Regions from separate parts of the Homo sapiens genome. Here all the other regions are linked to region 1. The links are contacts of gene promoters, found by promoter capture Hi-C in human tissues and cell types (Jung and others, 2019). All regions are on one chromosome and are shown on one strand. Each heading gives the region's core, a stretch centred on a gene start or on the middle of the fragment in contact. The rest is flanking DNA. Distances are from core to core; before and after follow the strand shown.

Region 1 (2,912 bases), core at 302-2,801:
GCTATGGTGGGCAGCATGGTGGGCAAGTAGTCCCAGCTACTTGGGAGGCTGAGGCAGGAGAATCACTTGAACCCAGGAGGCAGAGGTTGCAGTGAGCCAAGATCATGCCACTGCACTCCAGCCTGGGTGACAGAGCGAGACTCCATCTCAAAAAAAAAAAAAAAGTTTATTGGTAAGAATTTTATTCTTTTTATTCTTTTTCATTGCTTTTATAAATGAAATTGTTTTCTTAATTTCCTTTTTGGATTTTTCATTATTAGTGTATAGAAACAACTAATTTCTATGTGTTAATTTTGTATCCTGCAACTTTGCTGACTTTATTAATTCTAATAAGTGTGTGTGTGTGTGTATGTGTGTGTAATCCATCTTGGTTTTGTTTTTATTTTTACTTGGAGACTCAGGCAGGGACAGGTTTTCTTGTCATCTTCCAAAGCCTGTGGGTAGACTTTTTCTAGGTCCCTATTCATTGAAGAAGCAGGCTTCAAGGATCCCAGCTGTCCTCAAGAGTACTGGTTCCAGCTTCCTGCTTCATGAACCGGTCATGGCCCCTGCAAGGTCAAGGTCATTATAATGCCAGCACCTGACTGCTAAGGCTATTTCCCTTCCAATACCTTCCCCTCAGAGCTCCTGGTGCATCAGCTCATTCAACCTTCTGCTTTTCTGCTCTCTCTTGATTTAAGAAACAGACACATTATATTTCTACATAGTTAGAGCACAGGGGTCCCAGCATCCCACTTCCAAATGAGCATGTCAAGCACATGCATTCAGAGAGGATACCTGGAAGCCAAAATTTTGCCATAGTGAAAGGCCTTATTCCTGAATACAGCTAGAGTGGGGAAGACCTTGGCCTCTCCCCCCGCAGGCAAGAATGTTGCCTCCACAGGGGGCTGGTAGCCTGCTAAGGCCCAGGCCACATGAGTGGGTTGTCTACTGTTACTGAGGGCCTACTATGTGCCAGACACCATACTAGGTGCTTTACATACATTATATGTCATTGAATCTTCCCTCTAGTCCTGTGAGATAGGTACTATTATTGTCACTGATTCACTTGAGAAAGCTGCCAAAACACAGATAGCAAGGGGCAGAACCAGGATTCTGATTTAGGTTGGCTCAGCCTTTTATCAAATACATCTGGTCTTCCTCTGTCCTTTCAAAAGCCTATAGCTTCCTCATCTTGCCCACTCCTCTGTGGGTAGGGTCTGTGGTTTCCTTTCTCTTATCTATCTTCAACACACAGTGGGTGTGACCTGGGTGCAACCAGTCACAGCTCTGCAGAGGTTACTGTGATTTTGCCCCTGAAGGATCTGTCCACAACTTAGGAACTCACACAGCTTTTGGCCTGAGCCCCCGTTACCAAGAGAAAGGAGGTTTTTGCCAAGGACTCCAAGGGGAGTGCACTTGATGCTGGTCGGGACCCAAAGCGCCCAGCCCTCCCTGAGACATTGTGTGAGTCGGGCTGGGCCTCAAACACGGCCCCCACTGCCCCACCCCAGCCAGGGTGGTGCTTGTGTGGGAAGGACTTTAAATCCAGCTGCCAGACCCCTGGACGGGAGAAGGAGAGACGGCTGGCCACCATGCACGGCTCCTGCAGTTTCCTGATGCTTCTGCTGCCGCTACTGCTACTGCTGGTGGCCACCACAGGCCCCGTTGGAGCCCTCACAGATGAGGAGAAACGTTTGATGGTGGAGCTGCACAACCTCTACCGGGCCCAGGTATCCCCGACGGCCTCAGACATGCTGCACATGGTAAGTGTGGCCACGGCCCTTGCTGGCTGGGATGGAAGGGGTGCTGGCCAGGGTCTGTCACCAGGCTCTCTTACCCTGCTCCTCATGCTGAAGCTATTTCAGAATTCCTCTCCTTTTTCTGGTCAGTGACAGAGTCCCCGAGTCCCTGACATGGTATTACATTACTTTAAATGGCAAAAACCACAATTACTTTTGCACCCGCCTAATAAAATTCACAGGCCCCTATAAGCAGCCTCATAATACAGATAAGGAAAGTGAGGCTCAGAGGGATTTGTTGGGGTCACACAGCTGGTAGAGCCAGACCCAAAGCCCTGGCTTCCCACTCCAATGAGCTTTCCCCAGCACTTCCTCAAATGCATGTGCCCTCAGTGGGGGAACCCGGGAAGTTCTTAACACCTTTGTGAAAACGGTCTTTCACATGCCTGCCAAGGAGAGGACAAGAGGAAGCAGGGCAGCAGGATGGGCGTGGGCACGTGGAGTAGGAGGCAGGTGCTAAGGAGGTGGGTGACAGCAGGATCCAGAAGCAGAGAGGGCTCTGGATCACACAGTCCAAATTCTGTCTCGGTCACCTACAAGACCTATGATTCGAGGCAAGTCCTGTAACCTTGCCGATCCCGTGTCTCATCTGTAAAAGGCGGTCAGAATTAGAGCTACGTATATACCAGTGTGGATTGAATCTCACAGATATCATACTGAATGGGGGAGGAAATAAAATCTCTAAAAAATACACAGTAGGATCTCTTTACATGAAGTCTGAAAACATGTAAAAATACTATTTATGTCCTGGTGAAACACGCAGATGTAGTAAACATTACATGTACATGCACACAGGAGACAGAAGCCAGATTTAGGGTTGGTTACTTCTGTCAGGAAGAGCTATTTATGGTAGGGTGAGAGGCGGGCTGTCTATATGCAGAATTAAAGGAGATAAAGTGAGAAATTCACCCACTTCCTGCCCTCCCTGAGGGCTGAACTAGCTTGTCCCCTCCAGCCACCCTCAGGTGACTGGGGAGGTTGCTGGGCAGTGTTCAGGGACCCCTGGAGCTGGTGCCTGAGAGAACAGATGCACCTTGGGGAACATAACAGTGAGCCTGGGGCCCCAAACCTAAGTTCTAACCTCAGCCTAATGTGATCTGGCTGAAGTAACTCTGGGTGGACCCCTTTCCC
Region 2 (2,912 bases), core at 250-2,749, 250 kb after region 1:
CTCACCATGCTCCAGTCACTGGCTTTCTTTTTTTTTTTTTGAGACGGAGTTTCACTCTTGTCACCCAGGCTGGAGTGCAATGGTGCTATCTTGGCTGCCTGCAACTTCCGCGTCCCAGATTCAAGAGACTCTCCTGCCTCAGCCTCCTGAGTAGCTGGGATTACAGGCACCTGCCACCATGCCTGGCTAATTTTTGTATTTTTAGTAGAGATGGGGTTTCACCGCGTTGGCCAAGGCTGGTTTTGAACTCCTGACCTCAGATGATCTGCCCGCCTCGGCCTCCCAGAGGGCTGGGATTAGAGGTGTGAACCACCGCACCCCAGCCCAGTCACTGGCTTCCTGACTGTTCTTTGAACACCCCAGACTTGCTCCCCCTGCTTGGAACTTTGCACTTGCTCTTCGTTTCAAATGTCCCACAGATCTTCTCAGTCATGTTAAGCATCACCTCCCCAGAGAGACATCCTTTGTCCAAAGGCCTCCTGGCTGCCCATCTCCATTGAGTCATGAGCCTATTCCTGAGCCAGTTAATCACGAGAGGACAGAATTACTAGGACTGGCAAAGTCTTGTTATTTGGGACCAAACTCTCTATTATACTACCTTGTCTTATTCTCTTCCCAGCACCTATCATAGCTGAAATGATTATACAGATGTGCAAGTTTCGTTGCTTATCATCTGTCTTCCCTCCTCAGAATGTAAGTTTCGTGAGAGCAGGAATTTATCTGTTTTTTTCACCTTTGTCACTCCAATATCTAGAACAGGGTCTGATATATTTAGTATAAACTCAATAAAGATTCGTTGAATGAATCACTGACAAATAGAGATAACATAGCACTTTGGACTTCCTCTCTTACCTGATTTATCACATAGTACTGTAATGACTTCCTGACACGCTCCCTTCTTGATTCAGGGCCAAGACTGCATTTTGCTTTTTATTTTTGCCTCACTTAGCACAATGCCTGGCATATATTTGACAAGCCATATGTTTTGATGAATGAATAAATTTTGATGAATGAAAGAAGGTGTGAACGCATATGTTTGGGAAACATAGGTGTGCTCCAGGATATCAGAAGTTGGAGAAGGTGGATGGTTATTGTACACAGGTGATCAAATGCTTAATAAAATAATCCCAATCAGGCCAAAAAATGCAAGAGCTCCTCAGATCAAAGGGTGGGGCAGGTGGGGCCAGGCTGAGGTCCGGGTAGCAGGGAGGAGGCTGGAGAGGAAGATGCCGGGAGCTGGGAAATCCTTGAAAAGGAGCTGTAAAATGTTTATTTGCTGAATTAACAGGACTCTTAATTGCTTGGGCAAATTTTATTTTTCTTTTCTTGTTTCTTTTTTTTTTTTTTAGAGACAGGGTCTCACCACGTTGCCCTGTAGTGACCAGCTCAGGCTGGTCTTGAGCTCCTGGGCTCAAGTGATCCTCCTGCCTCGGCCCCCCAAAATGTTGGAATTACAGGCATGAGCCACTGTGCCCAGCCACTGGGACACTTTTACAAGTACTTTCTCCCAAAGCCTCTGAAAAGAATCCTTTATTTCCCCCAAAACTCTGTTTGAGAAGCAGGCTGACTTCAAATCCATTCTCCATCACATCATTCATAAAAGACATCTTGTCAGTGCCACGCTGTCAGGAGGAGAAACCAAACATACACTTTAAATAAGATGCCCCTCACGGGATACATTTCTGTATCCTTGGTAAGAGGCAGAAGGAGATTTTAAAAACATGTAAAGTCTGAAAAAAATTTTGAGTTTTGTGTATCTTTAATATGAAAGTTATTTCTGATAATCACCAAGTAATTATTTCTTTTTAAGCCCTTCCAGTACAGAAGCTACCTAGTAATTATTTAACTCAGTCTTTTACATATACACAAGCACACACATACACACATACACAAGCACACACATACAAACATACACACAGACACAACATACACAAATACACACTCATATTCACATACACAAACACAGATACCCAAACATACACACAGACACAACATATACAAATACACGCACATACTCACATACACAAACACAGACATACAAACATACACAAATACACACACATATTCACATACACATACACAAACACAGATACCCAAACATACACACATAGACACAACAGACACAAATACAAACACGCACATGCACAAACCCAGATTACAAACATACACACAGACCCAAATGCATACATTCACACGCACAACACAGATGCACAGACACACACAATCATACACCAAACACACATGCATAAAACCCTTGTTTCCTAAGCGAACTAACACAGGAACAGAAAAAAGAAATACTGCATGTTCTCCCTTATGAGTGGGAGCTGAACACTGAGTACATATGGACACGAAGAAGGAAACAGCAGACATTGGGGCCTACTAGAGGGTGGAAGGTTGGAGAAGTGTGAGGCTCACAAAACTGTGGAATCCAGCCAGGTGCAGTGACTCATACCTGTAATCCCAGCACTTTGAGAGGCCGAGGCCAGCAGATCACTTGAGGTCAGGAGTCCAAGACCATCCTAGCCAACATGGTGAAACCCTTTCTCTACTAAAAATAAAAAAATTAGCCGGGCATGGTGGTGAGTGCCTGTAATCCCAGCTACTCAGGAGGCTGAGGCAGGAGAATCGCTTGAACCCGGGAGGTGGAGGTTGCAGTGAGCTGAGATCGCACCCCTGGACTCCAGCCTGGGCTACAGAGTGAGACTCCATCTCAAAAAAAATGGAAAGAAAAAGAAAAGAAATCTGCACACGTGCCCTTGAACCTAAAATAAAATTTAAAAAAATAATAATAAAAGAGGTGTAAAACAAAACAAAAAATCCCTTGTTAATGAAGCAAAATATGATCAGAGGCATTTGTAAAAACTATTTCCTAGGGAATAAAATCATCATTTATTCAGGGGAAAAAAGTAAGC
Region 3 (2,912 bases), core at 252-2,751, 220 kb after region 1:
TTACCCAGGTGGGTCCCGGCTCTGTGGGTGATGGGGAGGGGCATTGCTGACTGTGTATATAGGATAATTATGAAAAGCAGTTCTGGATGGTGTGCCTTCCAGATCCTCTCTGGGGCTGTGTTTTGAGCAGCAGGTAGCCTGCTGGTTTTATCTGAGTGAAATACTGTACAGGGGAATAAAAGAGATCTTATTTTTTTTTTTATACTTGGCGTTTTTTGAATAAAAACCTTTTGTCTTAACTCGTGGCTTCTAATCGTCTGTGCGGAGGCATTGCTAACCTGCATTTATTGAGCATTTGGTAAGTGCCAAAGAATTGTAGGAGAAAGGAATTCTCAGCCTAAATCTGGCTTCCTTCAACATTGGGATTTCTAGGATAGTCATCTTCCTGAAACGAATGTATGGTCAAGGGGTAGGACCAGTATTGTCAAAATTTGGGCAATATCTGGCATGGGAGGCCTAATAAAATAACCTTTTCCAGATTACAATTTTAAAGCTATGCAAATAGGATAGATGTGACAATTTTCAAGTGTTCAATAGCCATTTATGGCTAGTGGCCACCTCATATAAAACATCATTGCAGAAAGTTCTATTGGATGGGGCTGATCTAGAGATAACAAATACATACCTATTACCAAACTAACCCTTGAAGCTTTTATCAGTTGTCTGCCACTGATAGTAAAACATTTTGAGCATGTCCCCTTGGTACACGTGAAGTTTATTGAAAAACTATTGCCTCTATTACTCTCGGTTCCTGATTCAAGTTTCCTTCACCTTTAGTGTGAGGTTTAGTTTCTTTTCGAGACTGAGTCTCTGTCAACCAGGCTGGACCAGCTGGCGTGCCACTGCCAGTGGCACGATCTCGGCTCACTGCAACTTTCACTTCCCGGGTTCAAGCAGTTCTACCTCAGCCTCCTGAGTAGCTGGGATTACAGGCGCCCGCTGCCACGCCCAGCTAATTTTTGTATTTTAGTAGAGACAGGGTTTTACCATGTTGGCCAGGCTGGTCTCGAGCTCCTTGACCTTATGATCCGCCTGCTTCAGCCACCCAAAGTGCTAGGATTACAGGTGTGAGCCATCGTGCTCCGCAGCCTTTTTTTTTTTTTTTTTGAGATGGAGTGTCGCTCTGTTGCCCAGGCTGGGGTGCAGTGGTGCAATCTAGGCTCATCGCAAGCTCCGCCTCCCGGGTTTTAAGTGATTATCCTGTCTCAGCCTCCCGAGAAGTTGGGATTACAGGCATGTGCCACCAGGCCAGCTAATTTTGTATTAGTAGATACGGGGTTTCGCCATGTTGGCCAGGCTGGTTTGGAACTCCTGACTTCAAGTGATCTGCCTGCCTTGGCCTCCCAAAGTGCTGGGATTACAGGCGTGGGCCACCGCGCCTGGCCTAGTCTTTAACAATAGTATAATTTATTATGCAGCATAGAAAAAATAATAGAACAGTGTGGTGACACTAAAGTCGTGACCAGATAAGACCCAGTCTACAAAAAATAAGTGAAAATTAGCTGAGCGTGGTGGCATACACCTGTAGTCCTACCTATGCAGGAGGCTGAGGCAGGAGGATCGCTTGAACCCAGGAGCTCCAAGGTTGCAGTGAGTTATGATCACGCTATTGCACTCCAGCCTGGGCAACAGGTAACCCCACTTAAAACACACACACACACACACACACACACACACACAATAGTGGATGGGTAGAAATGTGAGTTTGACTTAAGGTTTCCCCCTCTGATGTGTTTGACAAAGGGCTAATATTGGGAGTAGGTGAAATGTTAGCTCTGCCATTTTCTTACTGCTTATTCTTGAATAATTAGTATTTTTAGTCCATGGTTTCTTTGCAGGGATCTGTTTAATAGGCCCTTTGTCCATTTTGTGTGAGTTTAGTTAAACTGGATGGCAAGACCCATGAATCCACTTTGTACGTGTGGCCTGAATACATCCTGATATTTTGAAAGCACACTGGAGTGCCATTGTCAATTCATATATTAAGTATTGGTAAATGTTGGTTTCTTGTTTCTTTATAAATATCCACAGTTATAATACTCCCTCCCTGGGGGTCATCATGCTCCCAACCCTCAATGCATCCACACACCCTTTGGACACTGGCCCATATGCACCCTCGAGGTTGCTGGAGGGTGCAGACTATAATACCCCTCACTCCTCATTGGGTTCTGGTGTATGTCTACCCTTAAGCTTAGACTAGATCCCATACCTCAGCTCAGCCCCCATGTGGCTATAAAGAGGAAGGAAGGATGTCTTGGTTCTGGGGGGCTGATTTTCTGAGGTTCCCCTTTTCTCTAATCTCTCCCATCCCCCACACAACATACACACACTACCAACATCTTGGAGCCTGAGGGTTGCATGCTTCGTCCTTTCCAGTAAAGCTGACACTTGGATAATTAAAAGTTGCCGCAAACTATTAACGAAATCAGGCAAAGCCCCACCCTTCTCTTTCTCGAAGTGAGTTTCTGGCAGTTTCCCCATCTAATGAGACTGCTGCGGGGGAATAGAAGAAAGTATCTCTGAATAAAGACAGATCGTGCTCCTGTTGGATGCAAGAGATTAAGAGTTTTAGGGGGAGGGTGAAAGGTCATATTTAATCTCTTCTCAGGGGCAGTTTGACATCTAGCGTGGAAAGGGAATCAGATAACCAATAAGTCTGCGGGGGATCAATGTCATGGCCAGAGGAATATAGAGAGCAATGGTTAAAAGCATTGACTTGGGAATCAGCCTTGAGCTTACTTATCTAGAAACCTTGGGCAAGTTATTACACCCTCTAAAACTAATCTCTAAACAGAGATACTCCTGGATTGGATTATTAGGAGACTGGGTTAAATAACAGATATACTTACATACAGAAAAACTACTATCTCCCGCTTACGGATGCATACACATGTAGCAAAAGTACAAAGAAG
Region 4 (2,912 bases), core at 171-2,670, 190 kb before region 1:
AAACTTGGTTGCAATTTGGAATCCCCCCAAGAAGCTTTAGAAATACTGACACCAATGTCTTACCCGAGAGATTCATGATCAGTTGGTCTGGAGTGCAAGCTGGGCATGGGAATTGTTAAAAGCTCCCCAGGGGGATTTGAACTTGCAACCCAGGTTGAGACCACTGAATGAGATTCCTGTGCAAACTCGGCCTGGCCTCCATTAAGGCTCCAGGGATGGCTGCAGCCTGGGGGTCAGATTAGCTCAAAGTCTGCACCTCCAGCTTTGGGAGAGAAGGAGGTGAGAGAAATAGTGCCCAGAGACAGGGGGAAGACCATGGGGAGAAGACAAATAAGGCTTTGACTACTCTATTCACAGTTCTTTTTTTTTTTTTTTTTTTTTTTTTTTGAGACAGAGTCTCGCTCTGTCGCCCAAGCTGGAGTGCAGTGGTACGATCTCGGCTCACTGCAACCTCCACCTCCTGGGTTCAAGCAATTCTGCCTCAGCCTCCTGAGTAGCTGGGATTACAGGCGCATGCCATCATATCCGGCTAATTTTTGTATTTTTAGTAGAGACGGGGTTTCACCATGGTGGCCAGGTTGGTCTCAAACTCCTGACCTCAAGTGATCCGCCCACCTTGGCCTCCCAAAATGCTGGGATTACAGGCGTGAACCAGCGTGCCCAGCCATATTCACAGTTCTGTGGCTGTCCACCCTGGTTGGGCTGCCTGAAGTCACTGCAGATGTCACTTGTCACCTGCTGGCCTTGGCTCCTAACCCCTTAGCACAGGGCCAACAAAAGCTGCGGTCCAGCTGACTGTGACTTCTGGGGCCGGCACCCAAGAGAACAGGCTTATTGGGTGTGGGAAAATGAAATGGGCTTCTGCAGACCACCAAATGAACACCTTATCTGGCATACAAAGGCTCAGGACAGAGGCCTAACCTAGGAGGCAGCAAAGTGGGCAGAAAAGACCTTCGGCTGTGGGGTGAGCAGCCCTGGCTGGCAGTCTCAGCTCTTCCAAGTACTAGGTCTGTTGCCCCGAGCAACTGGCTTAACCCTCAGACACTCCCCTCCTTTCCAAATTGAGAAAAATCACAGCCACTTTGGAGCTGCTGTGCAAGTAAACTATCTCCACGTACAGTCAGCGCTGGACACATGTTGCTCTGTTCCTGTCTAAAACACTCCATCCCTTTATCCAAGCTCCTGTCTCTCAAACAATTCCCATGCTTCTTGAAAATATCAGCTCCATGAGGCCCGGGATTTTTGTTTGTTTGTTTCCTGCTGTATCTTCAGCTTCTAGAACAGTGCCTAGCCTATATCAGGTGCTGTATACATATTTGTTGGCTGACTGAGAGCTCCTAGCAACGTGATGAAATGGGCTGTGCAGGTAATAATACCGTCATTCTACAAAATCACAAAAGGAGGCCAAGAGTATGTGGCTCTCCGTGAGTCACACAGCTGGTCAGTGGTGATGCCAGGAGTCAGTGACCTGGGCCTCTGGACACCTAGAGCCACAATGACAGAGCCAGATATGTGTGAGCCTGGGCAAGCCAGCAGGGATGAGAGACACCAGCCAAAACGCCAGGCTGCCCCCACGGCATACCAACTAGCTCTATCTATAGTTTCCTCCCAGCTGAGCTGCAAGGTCTGCCTCCTAATGAGCCTCTGCCTGGCAGGGGGAAGGTTTCCCTGCGGCTTACAAGTCCCGAGGGCTGACAGGCCCTGAGGGGTTTTGCCTTAAATGGACTTGAGTCAGTCCAACACTCAACTCTTCAGGAAGAGGAGCATCAGGGCCTCATCTGGGGCAGGCAGTGAGACTGGCAGCAATCTCGGCCCCCAGGTTGCACTGCGCAACACCGGGCAGTGCCGCGGTGACCGTGCCTCCCGTCTGAGCCTCAGCTTCTGCATGTGAATACCGAGAACGGTACGATGCCCTTCATCGAGGCCATCTGTGGAGATGCCTGATAGGGCGCCTGGCCCTCCTGGGAGCTCATCTGTGGCCGGATGCAAAAGAGAAGGAACTCACACATCAAGGGTGCCAGGCAGAAGTGGGAAGCTGCGGTGACTCCTTTCCTCTCTCCAGGTGAGGACTCCACACTCTTAACACCCTCTTAAAATCTACTCATTCAGCATCAAGGTGTGAGCAGCCTGACCCAGACAACTGTGGTTTAACAGGGACAAATCCTCAAGTCACAGAACATTAAGAGAGTAGGGCAAATTCCAGGAAGGCAGGGGAAGTGCTTCCTGTCATCACCCCACTTTACCCCACCGGAAGGCTGGCTTGGCTCTGATCCTGATGCCACTTCCTGTGACTTCAGCTCTGCTCAGCTAGGTCACTCAGGTTTGGCCTTGTGTGGACTGGACACATAGCAAAGGCAGGGAGACTCCAGGCCAGAGGGCCAGGCCAGAGGCAATTTCAACAGGAGGGAAATGCAGCTTCTCCTTACTCTGGCAAGTTATATAATATCTTCTCTTCTATTTCCCTTGTAAAATAGGCACAGCACTAGACCCGGCTCCTAGGGTTATTGTAAAATTTAAATTCACAAAATAAGATAACGCATTTAAACCAATTAGAATACAACTTGGTCCATGTCCTAAGTCCTCAGTAACTGTAATCGTATTACCTGGCTTCTACACCCATCATTCCGAGAACACTGCCCTTTCTCATCAGGCCCGGGTTCTCATCCTCCTGTACCTCTTCTCACAATAGGAGGGAATGATCCCTGACCGTGCCGCCCTCCTCTTAGTTCCCTCCTATCCCTCTGACCATCTCCTCTTCTTTCTTGCTCCTGGCCTCTGGCATCACCCACAGGGCCTCTCAGGGCACCAGATCTCTGGCCACCCCCCTCCTGGAGACCCTAGACTGCTGTCCCCTCCTGCTTTAGCGGTGCCTGGTCCACAGCTGCCTCCTCTCAATGTGGCTGAAACCAAGT

Evidence for each region. The method cuts DNA at HindIII sites, captures the fragments that hold promoters and counts their contacts. A contact is called where the count stands out against the background at its distance.
Region 2: a fragment that was not itself captured here is called in contact with the fragment with the promoter of PI16 in region 1 in 1 of the 25 tissues and cell types used here (spleen).
Region 3: a fragment that was not itself captured here is called in contact with the fragment with the promoter of PI16 in region 1 in 5 of the 25 tissues and cell types used here (dorsolateral prefrontal cortex, heart left ventricle, lymphoblastoid cells and 2 more).
Region 4: a contact is called between a fragment that was not itself captured here and the fragment with the promoter of PI16 in region 1, in 1 of the 25 tissues and cell types used here (spleen).

The regions. Positions count from the first base shown.
Region 1 is chr6:36,953,187-36,956,098 of GRCh38, forward strand. It overlaps PI16 (peptidase inhibitor 16), which reads left to right and starts at 1,552. Exons shown (of 7, transcript NM_153370.3): 1 at 1,552-1,745. The coding sequence starts at 1,575. The HindIII fragment of the contact is 39,732 bases long and covers 1-2,912 here.
Region 2 is chr6:37,202,172-37,205,083 of GRCh38, forward strand. No RefSeq gene overlaps it. Among named protein-coding and RNA genes, the nearest start is that of PIM1, 33 kb to the left of the region's middle. The HindIII fragment of the contact is 3,955 bases long and covers 1-2,912 here.
Region 3 is chr6:37,175,190-37,178,101 of GRCh38, forward strand. It overlaps PIM1 (Pim-1 proto-oncogene, serine/threonine kinase), which reads left to right. Exons shown (of 6, transcript NM_002648.4): 6 at 1-239. Among named protein-coding and RNA genes, the nearest start is that of PIM1, 6.5 kb to the left of the region's middle. The HindIII fragment of the contact is 4,205 bases long and covers 1-2,912 here.
Region 4 is chr6:36,767,866-36,770,777 of GRCh38, forward strand. The region is part of intron 10 of CPNE5 (copine 5); the gene reads right to left. Among named protein-coding and RNA genes, the nearest start is that of CPNE5, 70 kb to the right of the region's middle. RefSeq lists an enhancer at 803-1,334. The HindIII fragment of the contact is 6,053 bases long and covers 1-2,912 here.